Linked DNA regions of Homo sapiens: region 2 is linked to region 1. The links are contacts of gene promoters, found by promoter capture Hi-C in human tissues and cell types (Jung and others, 2019). All regions are on one chromosome and are shown on one strand. The core of a region is centred on a gene start or on the middle of the fragment in contact, and the rest is flanking DNA. Distances in the headings are between cores, read along the strand shown.

Region 1 (3,824 bases), core at 1,041-3,540:
TAATACTATTAGGGAATCTTCAAGCCTAGAAACTGACGTACAATTGGTCCTAGATACAGGATACTCCTAGAGTGCCTGGTCCTGAGTATACGATGTTTTCTAGGTTGTCTGGCCTTGCAGAAGCAAATGAAAAAGTATTTTGAAAGTATTAATACATGGAGAGTCCCACTGCTAATGCTACTAATGCTAAGTGAAGATGATCTCCAAATTCATAATTATGACACACAAGGGAAACAATTTTTTTTTGAGTCAGGCTCTCATTCTTTCACCCAGGTTAGAGTTCAGTGATACAGTCATAGCTCACTACAGGCTTGAACTCCTAGGCTCAAGTGATCTTTCCTGTCTCAGCCTCCCAAAGTAGCTAGGACTACAGACATGGGCCACCATGTTCGGCTAATTTTTAAATTTTTTTGTAGAGATGGGGTCTTGCTATGTTGCCCAGGCTGGTCTCAAACTCCTGGCCTCAAGTTATCCTCCAATCTTGGCCTCCCAAAGTTTTGGTATTACAGGTGTGAGCCACAATGCTCGGCCTGAAACAAATAATGTTAGGAAGCAAATAATGTTAAGAACAGAAATTGCCTTTACAGTCTATTAACGACTTAAATTCTATGTTAGGACAGCTCAAGAGATGTTGTTTTTGCTTCTAGGCTGGGACAATCCCAGTTTTCTTCCAAGTTGACTCTGTCCTGAGTGGATCAGTGTAAGGAAGTTGGGCAAAAAAAGAAAAATACATAGAAGAATATTTCAAGATATCTCATTATAAATATCTGTACAGATATGTGCATACTTTTTTCTGGACAGACTCATAAGACAGTGTCAAAAATGATTTTCTTTGGGGAGAGGGACTTGGGGTAAGAGGAATAGGAAGTTTTCAATTTTCCTTTTTTAAAACATTCCTTTCGAGTTTGAATTTCTGATGTTTTATATGTATATATATATATAACTTTTAAAAAGTGATAAGAAGGCTTACTTGTATTGTGAGGTTACAGGGATACAGGCAGTTTCTTATTTCCTTTTTTAAAAAACTGGTTAATATCATAGTATTGGTTTAAAAAAAATCCCAAAACAACATAAACATAAACATGTCCTAAACCTGGTCTGGCTCAGAACTTTTCCCCCCTATATGTAATTTACAACCTACTTCTGGGAATAAATTAACACACTTGACAAAAGGTATAAACAATTTTCTGACAAACTCTAGAGACTGAAGACTTCTAAGAAGCCCAGTCACCCAGCTGTCAGTCAAGAGTCTAATTACCTTTAACTAAACATAGTTTTCTTTGATAGCTAGTCTAACAATGTTTACCTATTTCTTTTTTTTTTTTTTCCTTCTTTTTTGATACAGGGTCTCAGCTGTGTCACGCAGGCTGGAGTGCAGTGGGCTGATCACAGCTCACGATGGCCTCAACTGCCTGGGCTCAAGCAATCCTCCTGCCTCAGCTTCCCGAGTAGCTGGGACTACAGGCGTGCCACCACACCTGGCTAATTTTTTGATTTTTATCAAGAGGGTCTCGCTATGTTGTCCAAACTGGTCTCAAACTCCTGGGCTCAAGTAGTCTGCCCCCCTCGGCCTCCCAAAGTGCTGGAATTACAGGCATGAGCCACCAAGCTTGGTCTGATTATCTGTAGAAATTAAATGTCTCTATCAAGAGGAAATCTTTTAATTGGCCTAATAGACTCTTTTTCCTTTGCAGCAAGATTTGTGATAAAGTTTATAAGTGGTCATCACTAAAGTTTTTGAAAAATTTTTTAAAACATGTTTTAAACCTTCAAAAAAGTGGGTAATGTTCACCTCCATTACTCGTATAAAAGATATGGGTTCGATGGATGACAGGACATAGAACCACAGGAATAGAATGTAATTCATTCATTCCTTTGACAAGTATTTGAGTGCCTACCCTATGCCAGACTGGCAAGTCCTTGAGGGTCTACCATGTGCCAGGCAGTGTTCTTGAAGCTGGGGATACAAAAATGAACAAACGAGATTCGGAGAATAAAACTACAGTTCCCACAGTATCTTTCTCTTTGGCTTTTTTCCAGGGGGCGCTGCTTTCCGCGACTGTCTTCCCATGATTCTCGTTGGGCAGAAAAGCCCCGCCCGCTTATCTGCCATTTAAGCCAGCGCCCCTTGAGAATGGACTACAACTCCCACAATGCATTCGAGGGGCACCGTGTTAGGGCGCCACCTTTTTCCCGGCTGTGCTGTACCTACAGCACCCAGAACTACAGTACCCAGAAAGCTCCGCTTCCCCTCCTGGGTGTTATTGCCCCTTTCCTGGTGCAGGACGCGGTAGTGGCCAGCGAGAGTGTCAGGCCTGGGGTTTTCTGTGTCCTTCCCTGGGTCAGGGACGAGCCAGTGACTTGACTCTTGGGCGCTAAGCTTGGGAGGGAGCGCAGGAGGCCGCTGTCCTTCCTTTCCGGTTCACGTCACCCTTCTCTCCCTCTGTTGCTCCACCTGCAGCCACTTGGACGGCTCCGGGACTGATTGCCTGGGGCAGGGGTGGCAGTCGAGGCCGCCGGGGCCGAGGTGAGGCTGCAGCTCTCCGGGCGGCGGTAGCGCTGGGGAGGAGGAGGAGAGAAGATGGCGTCGGAGCTAGAGCCAGAGGTGCAGGCCATCGACCGGAGCTTGCTGGAATGTTCGGCCGAGGAGATTGCGGGGGTGAGTGCCGGAACCCGGGCGGGTGCGTCTGCCCCTCGCAGGCCGCGCCTGTGGGGAGGAACCGACTCCTGGACGTCCTGGAGCAGCCCGACCCAGACTTGGGGAAACAGCTGTGCCGGCCCTCGCCTTGTGGGGTAATAGCCCGGGGAGGCCACCGATCCTGCCCCTCTCTTTCCATTTTCAACAGCTGCCAGAGCTGCGCTGTGCACTAACTACGTTTACTTTCCCTTTCTGCCCAGGAGAACCCACGGCTCTTCCATCATACCTCCTTTCCCCCAGCCTCCCATTAAGTCTCCCAACACATGGGCCTTTGCCCTTTATATCAGCTCTTGGAAGAGGAGAAGAGACGCTTCTTGTGTTTTTGGTATAATCGCCCTAGTTTATCTAGTTAATTGCTTTTCCTGAGACAAGCGAAGCCGTGTGCTCCTCCGACTAAACATGCCACCCTAACCGAGCCCCTCTTTTGTTTTTGGGACTGCCCCAGGCACCAAGAAGGCAAACGACACTACCCTTCGTTATCCGTTTCAGTGCTATCTTTTTTTTTTGCACCGGTTTGATTAGTTGACAACGTTGATGCATGTGTGGAAAGTTTACTGAGTATGAGAAAGTAGTCGTGGAGTCTGGGAAATTTTAAAAATATTTTTTCTAGGAGTTAGGGGTAATTGGATGGAGAACAAATGTTATATAACGTTGATAGAGCAGCTTTCAACAAATACTGTATAAGCTAAACGTGAGAACTGGTCACAGTGTAGTAGGAGCAGTTATATTCCAAACGTAAAACCGTTCAAACGCACTATTGCATTAAAACTGTAATATGAATATGCTAGTGTAAATAGCAGAGTTGTAGGAACACCCATTAGAAGAGATTGCCGAGAATGATTATGAATGGACCAAGACAGCTTGGGCCCCACCTCTAAGACCTCCAATTAAAAAGGCTGCTAGGAAGGGAGTGACCCGTGAATAAAAGTCAGCAATCTGAATGCTACGAACAAAATTTGGGATTGGGGGCACTGTGGAGCTGTTGGTCAGTGAGTAGTTATTTTGCGTGAATTGGTGAGGACATTAAGTCCGGGTAGAAAGAAATGTCAGGAGTAGAGGTGAAGACTTTAAAGAAATACGTTGTTAAATGCTGAATCTTTGCTTGTTTGGGTGTGTTTTGTTGTTG
Region 2 (3,458 bases), core at 7-2,506, 470 kb after region 1:
GGAAGTCAGATCAGAAACCCCTCCCACTTAAATCTGGGCCCCTCAAGGATGACAAGATCATTTAGTGGGTGAACCAATCCCACAACTCCCCTACTTGGCTTTGGTTTTGGATGCAAGGGATGTTAAGAGGTAGGGATATAAAGCTTCCATGGTAATATACAAGCACAGCTGGCCTTCAGTACTGTTTGGGACAAGAGTTTATAACCCATGTGGTCTGGAAAATCCTCAGGCTGATAACTTAGTTTAAAATAGTCTCAAGTAGGCTGGGCGTGGTGGCTCACACCTGTAATCCCACCACTTTGGGAGGCCGAGGCAGGCGGATCACCTGAGGTCAGGAGTTCAAGACCAGCCTGGCCAACATGGTGAAACCCCATCTCTACTAAAAATACAAAATTAGCTGGGTGTGGTGGTGGGTGCCTGTAATCCCAGCTACTCAGGAGGCTGAGGTAGGATAATCACTTGAGCCTGGGAGGTAGAGGTTGCAGTGAGCCAAGATCGCACCACTGCACTCCAGCCTGGGCAAAAAGAGTGAAATCACCACCGCGCCCCCCCCCCCAAAAAAAAATGGCCAGGCATGGTGGCTCACACCTGTAATCCCAGCACTTTGGGAGGCAGAGGCAGGTGGATCACGAGGTCAGGGGTTCGAGACCAGCCTGACCAACATGGTGAAACCCTGTCTCTACTAAAAATACAAAAATTAGCCGGGTGTGGTGGTGGGCGCCTGTAATCCCAGCTACTCAGGAGGCTGAAGCAGGAGAATTGCTTGAACGCGGGAGGCGGAGGTTGCAGTGAACCAAGATCGCGCCACTGCACTCCAGCCTGGGCGACAGAGCGAGACTCCGTCTCAAAAAAAAAAAAAGTCTCAAGTAGATAGTGTCTCCAGGGTCCTGGCAGAAGCAAATGTAATCCTTTCTTGAGGATTGTTTTTTTTTTGTTTGTTTTTTGTTTTTGAGATGGAGTCTCACTCTGTCGTCCAGACTGGCAAAAATTAAAATGTGAGAAGTATAAAATAAAAAATACAAAATGTCTTATGTTTAAAGAAAAAGTGTGACAAATGAATATCAAAAGGTACTAAACTGGTGTGATTAAAAAGTAAAACTTAAGGCCGGTCACGGTGGCTCACGCCTGTGTTCCCAGCACTTTGGGAGGCCAAAGCGGGTGGATCACGAGGTCAGGAGATGGAGACCATCCTGGCTAGTACAGTGAAACCCTATCTCTACTAAAAATACAAAAAATTAGCCAGGCGTGGTGGCGGGTGCCTGTAGTCCCAGCTACTCTGGAGGCTGAGGCAGGAGGATGGCATGAACCTGGGAGGCAGAGCTTGCAGTGAGCCGAGATCGTGCCACTGCACTCCAGCCTGGGGAACAGAGCGAGACTCCATCTCAAAAAAAAAAAAAAAAAAAGTAAAACTTAAAAAGAAAACCTTTTAAAAATGAAAAGTAGGGCCAGGCATGGTGGCTCGTGCCTGTAATCCCAGCACTTTGGGAGGCTGAGGTGGGTGGATCGCCTGAGGTTGGGAGTTCGAGACTAGCCTGGCCAACATGGTGAAACCCCGTCTCTACTAAAAATACAAAAAATTAGCCGGGCGTGGTGGCGCATGCCTGTAATCCTAGCTACTTGGGAGGCTGAGGCAGGAGAATTGCTTGAACCTAGGAGGCGGAGGTTGCGGTGAGCCAAGATTGCGCCACTGCACTCCAGCCTGGGCAACAAGAGTGATACTCCACCTCAGAAAAAAAAAAGTACACTACGAGAAGTTAGAAACTTTATGGTTAAGCAGCAGATTAGACTTCTCCCTAAAGGGAGAATGAACTGGAAATAGATCTGAAGTTACACAGAGAGAGCACTGACATACAGAGAAGTGGAAACTAAGGAAAAGAGGTTAAAAAACATGGAAGAGGCTGGGTGTAGTTGCTGACACCTGTAATCCCAACTTTTTGGGAGGCATAGAGAGGACTGCTTGAGGTCCTCAGTTGGGGACCAGCCTGGGCAACATAAGGAGACCTTGTCTCTAAAAAAAAATTAAAAAATCAGACATGTGGCACATGCCTATAGTCCCAGCTTCTCTGGAGGCTCAGGCTGGAGGATTGCTTGACCCCAGGAACTTGAGGTTGCAGTGAGCTATGATGGCATCACTGCACTCCAGCCTGGGTGACAGAGCAAGATCCTGTCTATAAAACAACAAAATGAAGATAAATGTGAGACTTGACAATCAAAATTTCAGGAAAGAATATTTCAAAGAGGCTGGGCATTTTCTAGAATTTTTTTTGAGATGGGGTCTCCCTCTGTCGCCCAAGCTGGAGTGCAGTGGCACGATCTTGGCTCACTGTAACCTCTTCCTCCCAGGTTAAAGCTATTCTTCTGCCTCAGCTCCCTGAGCAGCTGGTATTTCAGGTGTATGCCACCACACCTGGCTAATTTTTTTTTTTGTAGGGATGGGGTTTCACCGTGTTGGCCAGCTGGTCTCAAACTCCTGACCTCAAGTAATCCACCCACCTAGGCCTCCCAAAGTGATAGGTTTACAGGTGTGAGCCACCGCACCTGGCCTAGTTTTTTTTTTGTTTTTTTTGTTTTTTTTTTAAGGCTAGATAAATCATAAGCCAGGAACATTTGAAAGTCTATCCAGCCTGGGCAACATGGTGAAACTGCATCTCTACAAAGAATACTCAGGCGGCTGAGGCAGGAGGATCACTTGAGCCTGGGAGGTCGAGGCAGTGAGCCGTGATTGTGCCACCCGTACTCCAACCTGGGTGACAGAGCAAGACCCTTTCTTAAAGAAAGAATGCCTACCTTAAAAGCAGCTCTATGCCCCCAGTTAGGAGACTGAGGTGGGACAATCACTTGAGACTAGGAGTTCAAAGCTGTAGTATGCAGTGATTGCGCTTGTGAACAGCCACTGCACTGCCGCCTAGGTAACACAGTGAGATCCTGTATCTAAAAAAAGGCAGCTCTTGGGCCGGGCACGGTGGCTCACACCTGTAATCCCAGCACTTTGGGAGGCCGAGGAGGGCGGATCATGAGGTCAGGAGATCAAGACCATCCTGGCTAACACGGTGAAACCCCATCTCTACTAAAAATACAAAAAATTAGCCGGACATGGTGGCACGTGCCTGTAGTCCCAGCTACTCAGGAGGCTGAGGCAGGAGAATCACTTGAACCTGGGAGGCGGAGGTTGCAGTGAGCTGAGATTGCGCCACTGCACTCCAGCCTGGGCAACATAGTGAGACTCCATCTCAAAAAAAAAAAAAAAAGAAAAAGGTAGCTCTAATGAAAAGGAAGAGAAGTAGAATCAGAAGTTAGGACATCTATTGCTTGATGCTTCTGGGATGGGTAAGACGTAGTTCTGGTGATAGAAGTTGAAGCTGCAGCATAATGAGAGATGAAAGAGAAACTGCTCTTCTGGTGATTTTAACCCTAGGGATGTAGCTACTGGGACAGGAGGAAGTGAGGGACCCAGTGCT

The links. Contacts are between HindIII fragments. The study calls those that stand out against the background at their distance.
Region 2: a contact is called between a fragment that was not itself captured here and the fragment with the promoter of UBR2 in region 1, in 1 of the 25 tissues and cell types used here (spleen).

What each region holds. Positions count from the first base shown.
Region 1 is chr6:42,561,739-42,565,562 of GRCh38, forward strand. It overlaps UBR2 (ubiquitin protein ligase E3 component n-recognin 2), which reads left to right and starts at 2,291. Exons shown (of 47, transcript NM_001363705.2): 1 at 2,291-2,659. The coding sequence starts at 2,582. RefSeq lists enhancers at 1,853-1,932, 2,003-2,522 and a silencer at 3,555-3,684. The HindIII fragment of the contact is 6,066 bases long and covers 373-3,824 here.
Region 2 is chr6:43,030,022-43,033,479 of GRCh38, forward strand. No RefSeq gene overlaps it. Among named protein-coding and RNA genes, the nearest start is that of RRP36, 10 kb to the left of the region's middle. The HindIII fragment of the contact is 7,304 bases long and covers 1-3,458 here.